Linked DNA regions of Homo sapiens: regions 1, 2, 4 and 5 are each linked to region 3. Evidence: promoter capture Hi-C in 16 types of primary human blood cells and fetal thymus (Javierre and others, 2016). All regions are on one chromosome and are shown on one strand. The core of a region is centred on a gene start or on the middle of the fragment in contact, and the rest is flanking DNA. Distances in the headings are between cores, read along the strand shown. Region 1 has its middle 11 kb from the start of ZNF709. Region 2 overlaps ZNF564 (zinc finger protein 564). Region 3 holds the start of ZNF878 (zinc finger protein 878). Region 4 overlaps ZNF709 (zinc finger protein 709). Region 5 holds the start of ZNF564 (zinc finger protein 564).

Region 1 (2,700 bases), core at 188-2,687, 440 kb before region 3:
AACTTGTAACTTTCACAGACTTTTTCAATATGGAAAAATTACACCACGAGTGTACCCTAATGTGAAAGCAAAACTCAAACCTAATGTCTAAAAGTAGACCCAAGGAAACTACAATTACAACCTAGACAATTAAAACCCTCCCGGTTCTCCTAAAACCGCGTGCGGTTCCCAGCATTCCAGTGCTCTGTAGCTTCTCTCTGTATAAAGAGCTCTTTCCTTGGTGGGTGAGAGCAAGTAGGACACTTTTGGGGAAGGCTCCCCAGGAAGACCCATCTGGGCTTTCAATGACCTCCCTTTGCAGGCTCAAGAGTGGTCTTAGCTTGAAGTCACTAGTCTCTGGCTGCTGCTCCCCAGTCATGGGGCTTTCAACCGCTATTGATGTTTATTTTTTTGAGACAGGGTCTCCCTCTGTCACCCAGGCTGTAGCGCAGTGGCGAGATCATAGCTCACCGCAGCCTCGACCTCCAGGGCTTGGGCTTAAGTGAGCCTCCCACCTCAGCCCCCTGAGTAGCTGGGACTACAAGCACAGGCCATCATGCAGCTAATTTTTGTATTTTTAGTAGAGACGAGGGTTTCACCATGTTCGCCAGGCTGGTCTCGAACTCCTGACCTCAAATGATCCACCCACCTCGGCCTCCCAAAGTGCTGGGATTACAGGCGTGAGCCATCACGCCCAGTTGAAAGACGGGAACTTTCAAAGTTGCTTTTCTGGTAAAAGTTAAAGCAGAGGGGACTTTCTTTATCATGTTGGCTAAAACTGGCCTGTTGGGGATTTGACCAGCATCTCTTTCTCTCCTGATAATTTGTAAGGTCAGATAAACAACTTAGTTTCAGCTTGGTAGCGAGGAACGTCCCCGTGGGTAACTCATTTTGGTTTGGTCTGTTGGGTCTAGTGCAGGAGCTCAGTCTAAACCAATGGCTTCCTACAAATTGTATTTAACAGGGCAAATAATAATATTATGAATTGGAGAGGGAAAGCTTCATTTGGAATGAAAGAAGGAATTGGCAAATTTAGGGATTTCCTGTCAGTCCTAGGAAGAGCTAGGCTGGAAAACGGGGTCGTGGATTTGAGATCCTGTTTTCACACGTTTGTAAAATTAAGGGGCAAACCGGTCCCCCTGGGGAAAAAGAAGAGACTGGGGACCCCACGGACCACCGCTCCTCCCACGCACGAACGCCACACTCGAGCCGGGATTCCTTCTCTCCTATGACCCTCCCGTGATCCCCACACAATCTTGGAAGACGCGGGGCTACGGGCATGGAGCTGCCCACACAGGGCTCCGGGACCCGGGCCTCAGTAGCCGCGCGGGGACAGGACAGGACTCCCGGGATCCTGGCTGCCGGCCCAGCTTCACTCTGCGGCGGGAGGAGGCCGAGGGCCGAGCTACGCCAGGGGGACTCGGGTTCACAGACCCAGGAGTGGCCGCGGGCAGGCCCGGTTCCCGCGACAGCCGGTTCCGGCCAGCAGCTCTTCAGGTCTCGGGATTCCAGGCCCCGCACAGTCACCATTTCCGGGCTTCCGCGGTGTCCCCACCCCCTAACTACGACTCCCTCTGCCAGTGCGGGTCCCAGAGCGACAGAGGCTGCGGCAGAGCCACCTAGCGACGTTCGAGGCAGGAGAGACACAAACTGGAAATCGCGCCACCGTATCCACGCGCCTTTGTACAGGGCGGCCCCACCCACCGCTCCGGCGGCGTCTCCAATTGGACAGTTTGTGAGGTTCCACCCCCTGTTGCCTGAGTCACATCTCAGACGGAGGTCAGGTAGCTGAGCGATCCAGCTTCCACTTTTGTCCCTGAAACTGTCCTGCCAGAGACATTTGCATTATACCAGAACTTTATATGCTAGATATAAAGGCCCTCAGACCGGACACTGGCGTTTACCGAAGAAGCTTCTGAACGGGGACATAGGTGTGCGCGCAGGGAATGCCAGACAAGAGTTTCCAGATAAAGCGAACCCCTTGATGACTGACTCTTTGAGGAGTAAATCCACAGCAAAAGGGCCCTGGAGGCAAGGCCATACTGGATCAGGAGAGTCAGATATTCTCCAGAGGACAGTGGCTTGGCATCATGCTGCCAGGACACTCAGAACTGTGACCCCGTAGGTTCACAGAGACCAGGCAATGTTTACATTTTTAATTTTAAGTTTTGTTGTGGGTACATAGTAGGTGTATATATTTATGAGTTACATGAGATATTTTGATGTAAGCATGCAATGCCTAATAATCACATCATGGTAAATGGGGAATCCATCAACTCAAGCATTTATCCTTTGTGTTACAAACAAGCCGATTATACTCTTTTAGTTATTTAAAAATGTGCAACCAAATTATTTTTTACTATAATCACCCTGTTATGCTAGCAAATACTAGGTCTCATTCATTCTATTTTTTGTGGCCATTAACCATCTTCACTTCCCCTTCCCCCAACCCCCGCACTACCCTTTCCAGCCTCTGGTAACCATCCTTCTACTCTCTATCTCCATGAGGTCAATTGTTTTAATTTTTTGCTCCCAAAAATAAGTGAGAACATGTGAAGTTTGTCTTTCTGTGCCTGGCTTATTTCGCTTAACATAATGACCTCTAATTCCATCCAAATTGTTGCAAATGACAGGATCTCATTCTTTTTTATGGCTGAATAGTACTCCATTGTGTATTTGGAACATTTTTTTTTTAATCCATTCATCTGTTGAGGGACAGTT
Region 2 (2,704 bases), core at 66-2,565, 470 kb before region 3:
GTATGTCATGAAATTTTAAAAATAAGTAAACAAACCAGTAAGCCCAGCTTCAGATTTATTTATTCCTACAACTTTTTCACCAGAAAAAGAAAAAGTGGCATAGATGTTCAGTGTTGCAAAATCATTCACTTGGAAATAGTATTAAGAAACTGTATATATGGATATCACTTTTTTGGTGATAGCTACTGTCAAGCTCTCTTGCAGAGCATTCCATCCATTCACTTTCAAACAATTCATACAGGCCTGAAAACTTACCCTTTCCGCGATTATGGTAAAAATGTAAGTCGAATACCTATTAATAAATATAAAGTCACAAACCACTAAATCTTGCTTTCTATTTTTTCCAGAAATCATATGGAAGAGGGACTCAGTGAAAGTAAAGAATATGATCAATGTGGAGAAGCCTTCAGTCAGATTCTCAATCTTAATCTGAACAAGAAAATTCCTACTATAGTAAGACCATGTGAATGTAGTTTGTGTGGGAAAGTCTTCATGCATCATTCATCCCTTAGTAGGCACATCAGATCTCACCTTGGACACAAACCATATGACTATCAGGAATATGGAGAGAAACCATATAAATGTAAGCAGTGTGGGAAAGCCTTCAGTTCTTGTCAATCCTTTCGAAGACATGAAAGAACTCACACTGGTGAGAAACCCTATGCATGTCCGGAATGTGGGAAAGCCTTCATTTCTCTCCCAAGTGTTCGAAGACACATGATTAAGCACACTGGAGATGGACCATATAAATGTCAGGAATGTGGGAAAGCCTTTGATCGCCCAAGTTTATTTCAGATACATGAAAGAACTCACACTGGAGAGAAACCCTATGAATGTCAGGAATGTGCAAAAGCTTTCATTTCTCTTCCAAGTTTTCAAAGACACATGATTAGGCACACTGGAGATGGACCTTATAAATGTCAGGAATGTGGAAAAGCCTTTGACCGCCCCAGTTTATTTCGAATACATGAAAGAACTCATACTGGAGAGAAACCCCATGAATGTAAACAGTGTGGGAAGGCCTTCATTTCTTTCACAAATTTTCAAAGTCATATGATTAGGCACACTGGGGATGGACCTTATAAATGTAAAGTATGTGGGAGAGCCTTTATTTTTCCCAGTTATGTTCGAAAGCATGAAAGAACTCATACTGGGGAGAAACCCTATGAATGTAATAAATGTGGTAAAACCTTCAGTTCTTCCAGTAATGTTCGAACACATGAAAGGACTCACACTGGAGAGAAGCCCTATGAATGTAAGGAATGCGGGAAAGCCTTCATTTCTCTCCCAAGTGTCCGAAGACACATGATAAAGCACACTGGAGATGGACCTTATAAATGTCAGGTATGTGGTAGAGCCTTTGACTGTCCCAGTTCATTTCAAATACACGAAAGAACTCACACTGGAGAGAAACCCTATGAATGTCAGGTATGTGGGAAAGCCTTCATTTCTCTTAAAAGGATTAGAAAACATATGATACTGCACACTGGAGATGGACCTTATAAATGTCAGGTATGTGGTAAAGCCTTTGACTGTCCTAGTTCTGTCCGAACACATGAAAGAACTCATACTGGAGAAAAACCCTATGAATGTAAAGAATGTGGGAAAGCATTCAATTATGCCAGTTCCATTAGAATACATGAAAGAACTCATACCGGAGAAAAACCCTATGAATGTAAGCAATGTGGAAAAACGTTCAGTTATTCCAGTTCCTTTCAAAGACATGAAAGAGCTCATAATGGAGATAAACCTTACGTAAAGAATGTGGGAAAGCTTTCATTTATCACACAACCTTCGAATACCTGTGAAAATGAATAGTGGAGGACAGGTCTACAAGTATCTACATATCTAAAGAATATGGAAAGTCTTCAGTTTGCTTTCTGGGTTTCAGACTTGTTTGGGAGCTCACCCCTTTCTCCTGTTTCTCACTTTTGGAATAGGAATCTCTATCCTGTGCCTGTCTCATATTTTGGAAATACATGACTAGTTTGGTTTTCACCGGTTCGGAGCTGAAGAAGAATTTTGCCTCAGCATGAATTGAGTCTCATCCATATCTGAGTGATGTGATATTGAGATGACACTTTGGAGTTTGAGTTTAAACATTAGGCTTCATGCTGGAATTAACTGAGACTTTTGAGGCCTTTGGGATGAGATGAATATATTTTACATGTGATGACATGGATTTTGGGGGCCAGAGGTGTAATGTTTTGGCTGAGTGTATGCCACCTCAGATTCATATGTTGAAACCTTACCCCCGTGCCCCCCCTCTCCCCCACAATGTGATGGTATTTGGAGGCCCTGTCTCTGGTGGTTTTTAGGATTGGAGGACATCATGAAGATGGAGGCCTTGTAATTGGGATTAGTTTCCTGATAGGAATCCCTAGAGAGCTAGCTTTGCCCTTCACCATGAGAGGGTGCAGTGAGAAGATAGCTATCTTTGAACCGGGAAGCAGGCCCTTACCAGACATGGACTATGCCAGTGCCTTGATATTGGACTTCCCAGCCTCCCAAACCATGAGAAATAAATGTTTGTTGATTAATTAAGCTTTCCAATTTATGGTATTTTGTTTTAGCAACCCAAGCTAAGACACAATCCAATTTTAAAATGGAGGAAAGGACTTGAATAGACATTTCTCCAAAGAAGATACCCAGATGGCCAATAAGCACGTAACAATGCTCGACATCTTTAGTCATTAGGGAAATA
Region 3 (2,875 bases), core at 150-2,649:
CTGGTCTCACTGCGCCCGGCCACTGGTTTTTTGTTTTGTTTTGTTTTGTTTTTTTGAGACACAGTCTTGCTCTGTGGCCCAGGCTGGAGTACAGTGGTGCGATCTCTGCTCACTACAAGCTCCACCTCCCGTGTTCTCGCCATTCTCCTGCCTCAGCCTCCCGAGTAGCTGGGACTACAGGCGCCCACCACCACGCCCGGCTAATTTTTTTTTTGTATTTTTAGTAGAGACGGGGTTTCACCGTATTAGCCAGGATGGTCTCGATCTCCTGACCTCGTGATCCGCCCACCTCGGTCTCCCAAAGTGCTGGGATTACAGGCGTGAGCCACTGCGCCCGGCCAGCGCCCGGCCATTTAAAAAAATTTTAAATAATAAAGACAGGGATCGGCGGGCGAGGTGGCTCACGCCTGTAATCCCAGCACTTTAGGAGGCCGAGGCGGGCGGATCACCTGAGGTCGTGAGTTCGAGACCAGCCTGACCAACATGGAGAAACCCCGTCTCTACTAAAAATACAAAATTAGCGGGGCGTGGTGGCGCATGTCTGTAATCCCAGCTATTTGGGAGGCTGGGGCAGGAGAATCGCTTGAACCTGGGAGGCGGAGGTTGCAGTGAGCCAAGATCTCGTGCCACTGTGCTCCAGCCTGGGCGACAGATCGAGACTGTCTAAAAAAAAAAAAAAAAAAGAAAGAAAGACAGGGATCTCGCTGTGTTGATGATGTTGGCCTCAAACTCCTTGCTTCAAGGGATCCTTCCGCCTCAGTTTGCCAATGTGGTGGGATTATAGACATGAGTCACCATGTGCTACCTCTCTTCAGATTTTAAAGGTGTCAAACTCTCAATAGCTTTTAGATCAGGGAAAGGAAAAGAACGGGGGAGCTGGCAGTGCTTCATTAACGGAGATTCTCTACAAATGTAAATTTCCCCCTCAAAAGACAGTTTTGCAAGGCCACCTTTTGTTTGCTGGCCAAGCAGCAGCCATTTCAAAACTGTCAAAGAAATATATTTTGGCAGGGCAATATCTTGGGGCAAAATATTTTAATGTCTTTCACATTTTGTGGACACTGAATCTGGAATTCCCTGCACACTTGTGTCCCGTGTAGGATGAAGGGGCAGGGACGGCCCACGGAGTGAGGAAGACAACAGTGTCCCTTCTAGCAGTTCGGAGCAAGTTTGGCCGAAGGCAAATATTCGAAGTAAAGGTGGGAGGGAGGGAGGGAGCTGACCTTGGAAAGTGTGGCCAGAACCAGTCGCTTCGGCTCTGCAGCGCCCAGTTACCCGGGGCTTCTGCTGTCACTCAGGGAAGGGGGCGGAGTCTAGACCCCTATCCAATCAGGGGCGCTAGGGCGGGGCCCTGCCACTGTCCTCCAGGGAAGGGGAGGTTGCATTCCCGCTCTCTTCACTCCTAGGGCTGCTCGCGCTAGTTAAGGTCTGGGGCTTTCTTGCTCCGAGAGGGACCAGTTACTTCCGCCGTAGCTGCTGTTGCTCTGTCGACTGCGCTGTGACCTGCACTGTTCACGGGACCTTTAGAGAGGACGCCAGAATACCTGGAAGCCAGGAAATGGTGAGCATGCGGTGCTGGGGAGTCCCAAGGCGAAAGGAGGGACTGGGTGGAACCGAGAGGAACCCGCTGTGGCGGGGCCCGGGCCCCCCTGCAGCGACTCTGGGCTCCAGACACAGTCCCCCTAGCGCAGCTCGGCCCTCGGTCCCCTCGGCCGCTGGGTGGAGCTGGGCCGGCAGCCGGGACCCCGGGCGTCCTGTCCGGTCCCTGCGCGGCGACTGCGGCCCCGGCCCCGGCTCCCTCTCTGAGCAGCTCCGCGCCCGCAGCCCCGCGTCTCCCCAGATTGTGCGGTGACCATGGAAGGGTCATGGGGGATCCTGCCTCGGGTGTGGGGTTCGTGTGGGAGGAGCTGTGGGCTGTGGGGTCCCCAGTTCCTTTTTTTTTCCAGTTAAAAATTAAACTGAGGCACTGTTAAAAAATGAGAGTTTATTTTAGCAAACAGCGATTAATGAATGAGAAACTCCCAGTCCTGGCTTGTGGTTTGGTAACGGAAAAACCCAAATCGTGTAGAATAAGTTTATTCTGAGCCGAATAGGAGAGACCTCGGCTGAGGGAAACACAACCCCGCGAAGTCTGGAGTAAGCAATCCCGAGGCAGCTCCTGACAGTTTGGTTTTATTCATTTCAGGGAGACAGGAATTGCAGGAAAATGATGAATCAGTGCCGGGAAGGTGTAAGTTCCTTTGGCCGAAAGGCGGGACACATGGAAGCGGGGTTAGAAGGCACAGGTGGTGGAGGGATTCTGTAGGTGGCAGTTGGTTGAGAGTGTGTAAAGCTTTGTCTAAAATTTGGAGGCTGTAGGAAGGAGGGCTGTTATCTGCCACGTTATTCCATCCCAGTCCCCGCCCCCTTCCCCAAAAGACCTGTTTTTATTTTACCAGATTTTTATATTTTTGAGACGGAGTCTCGCTCCGTCGCCCCAGGCTGAAGTGCTGTGGCGCCATCTCGGCTCACTGCAACCTCCGCCTCCCGGGTTCAAGCGATTCTCTTGCCTCAGCCTCCCGAGTAGCTGGGACTACAGGCGCCAGCCACCACGCCCGGCTAATTTTTGTATTTTTAGTAGAAACGGGTTTCACCATATTGGCCAGGCTGGTCTTGAACTCCTCCTGACTTTGTGATCCGCCCACTTCGGCCTCCCAAGGTACTGGGATTACAGGCGTGAGCCACTGCGCCCGGCCAATTTTTGTATTTTTAGTAGAGACGGGGTTTCATGATATTGGCCAGGCTGGTCTCGAACTCCTGACCTCGTGATCCACCCTCCTCGGCCTCCCAAAGTGCTGGGATTACAGTGGAATGCCCCACTGCACTCCAGCCATGG
Region 4 (2,878 bases), core at 91-2,590, 420 kb before region 3:
TTCAATATATACTCTATTGATTCCATAAACCATTTAGGCACGCTAAGCCACTCTTTTTTTTTTTTTTTTGAGGTGGAGTCTCGCTCTGTTGCCCAGGCTGGAGTGCAGTGGCATGATCTTGGCTCACTGCAAGCTCTGCCTCCCGGGTTCACGCCATTCTCCTGCCTCAGCCTCCCGAGTAGCTGGGACTACAGGCTCCCGACATCACACTCAGCTAATTTTTTGTATCTTCAGTACAGACGGGGTTTCACTGTGTTAGCCAGGATGGTCTCGATCTCCTGACCTTGTGATCCGCCCACCTCAGCCTCCCAAAGTGCTGGGATTACAGCGTGAGCCACTGCACCCAGCCACACACTAAGCCACTCTTTATCACTTAGGTTGGCGGGGTCCCTCCCAAATTCTCACTTCCCAGATATCAGTGAAGGACAACAAATGTTTGGAGACCACAGAATCATATGTGAACTTTTTATGAATTGAATATATACCCTCAGGCATTTAAAGATAAGTAGTCTTAGGTTAACATTTTACTAATGTTAACAGTCTTCTGCACACTAGGTAGTAGGAATTTCTTTGAACAAGTGCCATAGAACCACTGTACAAGGAACAATTAGAACTTACGTGATCAGCTCATTTTACTCCTTTGACCCAACAACAAGAAAGGTGTGGATATTTCTGTTACTTTACCAAATAGGTAAATTCTAGTATCAGGATTGCTGTTTGGGAGCATTTTTTCTGTCCTTTGCATATGGACATCAGTAGGTTAATGATCTTTTTCAAAGGCCAAGATTTAGGGGAATTATGCCACTGAGGGATTCCTATGCTTTGGTGTCGGGATCTCATGCCACCACGTACCTCACGGGAGCCTAAAATGAGAGACGTTGGGAGGATGGCCAGCCTCTAGAGTAGCTGTTTGCGGATCACTTCTTTCTGAAATTGGAGAAAGGGAATTTCATATCCTTTTGGAGGACAGCACTGCTGAACCCTTTGAATTTTGTAATCATGGGCAAATTCAGTATGAAACCATTGTGGACTTGGGTGAACTCCCTTGCAAATTGAAACTGTTAACCTGTTACTCAAATTCGTTAAGTCTCAGGGTACACTGTTAGGTTTCTGAGGGAAAGAGCTGTTCTGGCATCTTATCATCTCCATCCTATGTGTGCTAACAGTGGTCGCAGTCCTGAGGCTCATGAGTGTGGGGATTTTTTGAAGACTTAATTTTATTTTTTTGAGACAGAGTCTTGCTCTGTCACCCAGGCTGGAGTGCAGTGGTGCGATCTCGGCTCACTGCAAGCTCTGCCTCCCAGGTTCACGCCATTCTCCTGCCTCAGCCTCCTGAGTAGCTGGGTCTACAGGCGCCCACCACCACACCCAGCTAATTTTTTTGTATTTTTAGTAGAGACAGGGTTTCACCATGTTAGCCAGGATGGTCTCTATCTCCTGACCTCGTGATCCACCCTTCTCAGCCTCCCAAAGTGCTGGGATTATAGGCGTGAGCAACCGCGCCTGGTGAAGATTTAATTTTTATGATCTAAGTTGCCATGCCTTTTTCCTCCTGCCTGTGCTCTAACATCCCAGTAACCTCCTGCCTCCATCAAATGGGACAGGGAGAAAAAAGAAACACTGGGTCTGTGATAAATATTATACAAACAAGTTAAAATTAATATTTCACTAAAAGAATATTTTCACTCCACCAGTTGGATCTGACTAATTCTAATGGTCTGCAGTACTTCGGTACAACATGGCCAGCAGGATGTTGTTGCAAGTTGCACGGGCCCTCTGGCTTTTCAGTGTAATCATGGGAATAGAAGAAAAAATGTACAGTTCTTCAGTATATACTTATTCATTAAAATCTCGTGGCTGGGTGCGGTGGCTCACACCTGTAATCCCAAGCACTTTGGGAGGCCGAGGTGGGCGGATCACGAGGTCAGGAGATCGAGACCATCCTGGCTAACATAGTGAAACCCCGTCTCTACTAAATATACAAAAAATTAGCCGGGCATAGTGGCGGGCGCCAGTAGTCCTAGCTACTCAGGAGGCTGAGGCAGGAGAATGGCGTGAACCCGGGAGGCAGAGCTTGCAGTGAGCTGAGATCGCGCCACTGCACTCTAGCCTGGGCGTCAGAGCAAGACTCTGTCTCAAAAAAAAAAAATCTCGTACAGATTTGACCCTGTGTTTCATGGGATGCTGAGTGATATAGTACATGATAAAGCAGGAGATAAAAAGTATTTTTCTTACAAGGAATTGTTGGTCTTAAACTGGAAATATTTGCTTCAATCGTATAGCATTTCTTTTTTTTTTTTTTTTTATTGATCATTCTTGGGTGTTTCTCGCAGAGGGGGATTTGGCAGGGTCATAGGACAATAGTGGAGGGAAGGTCAGCAGATAAACAAGTGAACAAAGGTCTCTGGTTTTCCTAGGCAGAGGACCCTGCGGCCTTCCGCAGTGTTTGTGTCCCTGGGTACTTGAGATTAGGGAGTGGTGATGACTCTTAACGAGCATGCTGCCTTCAAGCATCTGTTTACCAAAGCACATCTTGCACCGCCCTTAATCCATTTAACCCTGAGTGGACACAGCACATGTTTCAGAGAGCACAGGGTTGGGGGTAAGGTCATAGATCAACAGGATCCCAAGGCAGAAGAATTTTTCTTAGTACTGAACAAAATGAAAAGTCTCCCATGTCTACTTCTTTCTACACAGACACAGCAACCATCCGATTTCTCAATCTTTTCCCCACCTTTCCCCCTTTTCTATTCCACAAAACCGCCATTGTCATTATGGCCCGTTCTCAATGAGCTATTGGGTACACCTCCCAGACGGGGTGGTGGCCGGGCAGAGGGGCTCCTCACTTCCCAGAAGGGGCGGCCAGGCAGAGGCGCCC
Region 5 (2,700 bases), core at 106-2,605, 500 kb before region 3:
TTTGGTTTTAGCATTCATGGGGTCGCTGAGTCAGGCTGTAATTTGTATACATGAAGAAAATCTGTGAGGGTCAGACTCAGTGAAAAACTTGTTTGCATTGTCCCCTGGAGAAAAGGTTTGGGAACATGACAATTTATTTAGGTCACGACTTTACATTGACTCCGGGTGAGAGTTTCCTGCTGGTACAAATGAAGGTTTTGAAGGAAAGAGTGTTTCCACACTGTGAGGAGAGGACTGGAGGGCACCTTGAGCTCCCAAAGTTGAATTCTTAAGTGTCCCTGTCTCATCACCAGGTTCTGATCCACACTGGGGTTCCATTTCAGCAGTTAGAGTCTGGGTCCCAAGCTTGGGATTATTTTATTTTATATTTCATTTCTTCATTTCATTATTTCATTTCATTTCATATTTCATTTTTTAGTCTCGCTCTGTCGCCCAGGCTGGAGTGCAATGGCGCTATCTCGGCTCACTGCAACTTCCCCCTCCCAGGTTCAAGCGATTCTCGTACCTCAGCTTCCCGAGTTGCTGGGATTACAGGCACCTGCCACCACGCCTGGCTAATTTTTGTATTTTTAGTAGAGATGGGGTTTCACCATGTTGGTTAGGCTGGTCTTGAACTCCTGACCTTAAGCAATTTTCTCACCTTGGCCTTCCAAAGTTCTGGGATTACAGGCGTGAGCCACCGCGCCCGGCGCTTGGGAATATTTTTAACGTTATGATTGTGGGTTTTCCTTGTGAACTGCGGGTGAAGCAGGCTGCTTGTCTGAGCTAGTTCAAATGTTTGCTTACTTCTCTTGGTTTCTTTATAGATGATCGCTGTCATAAAAACTCCAGTTTTTCCTATACATTTAATACTTTTATTTCTTTGTCCGTTTTAATTTTCTTGCCTGAAAGAAGCAAGCCCTCCTCCCTCCTGTTACACTGTGGTCTGGCCTGGCCTGGGCGCGCCTCCTACTCCGAGGCCAGGGGATGGCTCCACTGGACGCCGAGTCTGTCATTCCCTGTGCACACTTGTGACTCTGTGTCCGGGAGGAAAAGGCAGGAAGGGCACCCTGAGTGCAGAAACACGCCAGTGTCACCTCTGCAGAGCCTGAAACACTTTCTGCTTAAATGCAAATATCCTCCCCGGCACAGAAGGTTACAGAAGGAGGAAGCCCGGCCCGCGAAGGGCAGTGGCCAAGACCCTGTCAATCTGTCTTTACTCAGCCACATACCGCATTGCTTCTCCTGTCACTCAGTACCAAGGGGGCAGGACTTGAATCATCACCCAATCAGGGGCACTGGGGCGGGAACCTGCAAACCATCCAATCAGGAACTCTGCAAGGGGGACAGGGGCAATGTTCAACAACTCCGCGGGGTCTTCCTGTTTCGTGTCCGCTGCGTTTGGGTTCCGGTCTCCGCTTCTCCAGTGGCCCCGGTGGCTCCACCGCAGCGTCTGGCGCGCTGGGACCTGCACAGGCCGGAGAGAGCCGTAGGCAGGACCCCGGGACACCCTGGAAGCCAGGAAATGGTGCGTGTGCGGGGCCGGGCGCCTGGAGACTGGGGGAGGGGCTTGTGGGAACCGGCCGGAACCGGCTGTGGAAGCACCCTGGCCTCCCTGCAGCGACTCCAGGGTCTGGGACCCGAGTTCCCTGGCGCAGCTCGGCCCTCTGTCCCCTCGGCCGCAGGGTGGGTTGGGCCGTAGCCAGTACCCCAGGCGTCCTGTCCCGTCCCTGCGCGGCGACTGCGGCCTCGGCCTCGGAGCCCTGTCTGGGCAGCTCCGCGCCCGCAGCCCCGCCTCTCTCCAGATTGTTTGTACTGGGACACGGGAGGGTCATAAGGCGGAATCCCGTCTCGGGTGTGCGGTTCGTGCATGGGAAGAGCTGTGGGCTGTGGCCTTCCCAGTACATCGTCTTTTTTTCCGGGGGACTGGTCTTCCTCCGAGTCTTCCAAACGTACTGGAAAAAGAATCTCAAACCTACGACTCCCGTTTTTTTTAGCCTAGCTTTTTCTGGGGCTGGAAATAAATGCCTAAATTTCCGGTTCCTTCCCCGCATTCCCAAAGGTGACCTCCCCTCGCCAAATCAACATTATCAGCTGTTTTTTGTTTGACATTTAAGACACAGTATTTTAGTTGTTTATAGTTTCTTTCACCATACTCTTTTGAAAGGATTTGTTTTCTGTTTGTTGTTTTTTTTTTCTTTTCAGACAGAGTTTCGCTCTGTCGCCCAGGCTGGAGTGCAGTGGGAAGATCTCAGCTCACTGCAACCTTCGCCTTCCGGGTTCAAGCAATTCTCCTGCCTCAGCCTCCTGAGTAACTGGGATTACAGGCATGCGCCGCCACGACCGGCTACTTTTTGTATTTTTGGTAGAAACTGGGTTTCTCCATGTTGGCCAGGTTGGTCTCAAACTCCAGACCTCAGGTGATCCGCTCACCTCCGCCTCCCAAAATGCTGGTATTACAGACGTGAGCCACCGCGCCCGGCCTCTTGTTTGTGTACTTGTAACCTGAGAGGGAAACGGAGAATAAGAACCTGACACTCTACGGTAAAATTTTTTTTTTTTTTTGAGACAGAGTTTCGCTCTTATTGCCCAGGCTGGAGTGCAATGGCGCGATCTCAGCTCACTGCAACCTCCACCTCCTGGGTTCAAGCGATTCTCCTGCCTCAGCCTCCCGTGTAACTGGGATTACAGGCATGCGCCACCATGCCCGGCTAATTTTGT

Evidence for each region. The method cuts DNA at HindIII sites, captures the fragments that hold promoters and counts their contacts. A CHiCAGO score of 5 or more calls a contact.
Region 1: a contact is called between a fragment that was not itself captured here and the fragment with the promoter of ZNF878 in region 3, in 14 of 17 cell types (megakaryocytes, M0 macrophages, activated CD4 T cells and 11 more). The highest score is 9.4, in megakaryocytes.
Region 2: a contact is called between a fragment that was not itself captured here and the fragment with the promoter of ZNF878 in region 3, in 6 of 17 cell types (erythroblasts, fetal thymus, M1 macrophages and 3 more). The highest score is 7.7, in erythroblasts.
Region 4: a fragment that was not itself captured here is called in contact with the fragment with the promoter of ZNF878 in region 3 in 1 of 17 cell types (erythroblasts); the score reaches 6.3 in erythroblasts.
Region 5: the fragment with the promoter of ZNF564 here is called in contact with the fragment with the promoter of ZNF878 in region 3 in 1 of 17 cell types (endothelial precursors); the score reaches 5.8 in endothelial precursors.

What each region holds. Positions count from the first base shown.
Region 1 is chr19:12,494,365-12,497,064 of GRCh38, reverse strand. No RefSeq gene overlaps it. Among named protein-coding and RNA genes, the nearest start is that of ZNF709, 11 kb to the right of the region's middle. RefSeq lists enhancers at 1,442-1,521, 783-1,662, 1,663-2,543 and a silencer at 1,712-1,761. The HindIII fragment of the contact is 913 bases long and covers 981-1,893 here.
Region 2 is chr19:12,525,560-12,528,263 of GRCh38, reverse strand. ZNF564 (zinc finger protein 564) reads left to right here. Exons shown (of 4, transcript NM_144976.4): 4 at 348-2,704. The coding sequence ends at 1,818. Among named protein-coding and RNA genes, the nearest start is that of ZNF564, 25 kb to the left of the region's middle. The HindIII fragment of the contact is 920 bases long and covers 856-1,775 here.
Region 3 is chr19:12,051,485-12,054,359 of GRCh38, reverse strand. It overlaps ZNF878 (zinc finger protein 878), which reads left to right and starts at 1,399. Exons shown (of 4, transcript NM_001080404.3): 1 at 1,399-1,561. The coding sequence starts at 1,559. RefSeq lists an enhancer at 1,060-1,565 and a silencer at 1,754-1,803. The HindIII fragment of the contact is 8,690 bases long and covers 1-2,334 here.
Region 4 is chr19:12,468,118-12,470,995 of GRCh38, reverse strand. The region is part of intron 1 of ZNF709 (zinc finger protein 709); the gene reads left to right. Among named protein-coding and RNA genes, the nearest start is that of ZNF709, 15 kb to the left of the region's middle. The HindIII fragment of the contact is 9,028 bases long and covers 1-2,878 here.
Region 5 is chr19:12,550,137-12,552,836 of GRCh38, reverse strand. ZNF564 (zinc finger protein 564) reads left to right here and starts at 1,355. Exons shown (of 4, transcript NM_144976.4): 1 at 1,355-1,507. The coding sequence starts at 1,505. It overlaps LINC02926 (long intergenic non-protein coding RNA 2926), which reads right to left and starts at 1,111. Exons shown (of 2, transcript NR_187485.1): 1 at 1-1,111. RefSeq lists enhancers at 1-304, 1,088-1,382, 1,448-1,557, 2,216-2,700 and a silencer at 1,788-1,867. The HindIII fragment of the contact is 25,081 bases long and covers 348-2,700 here.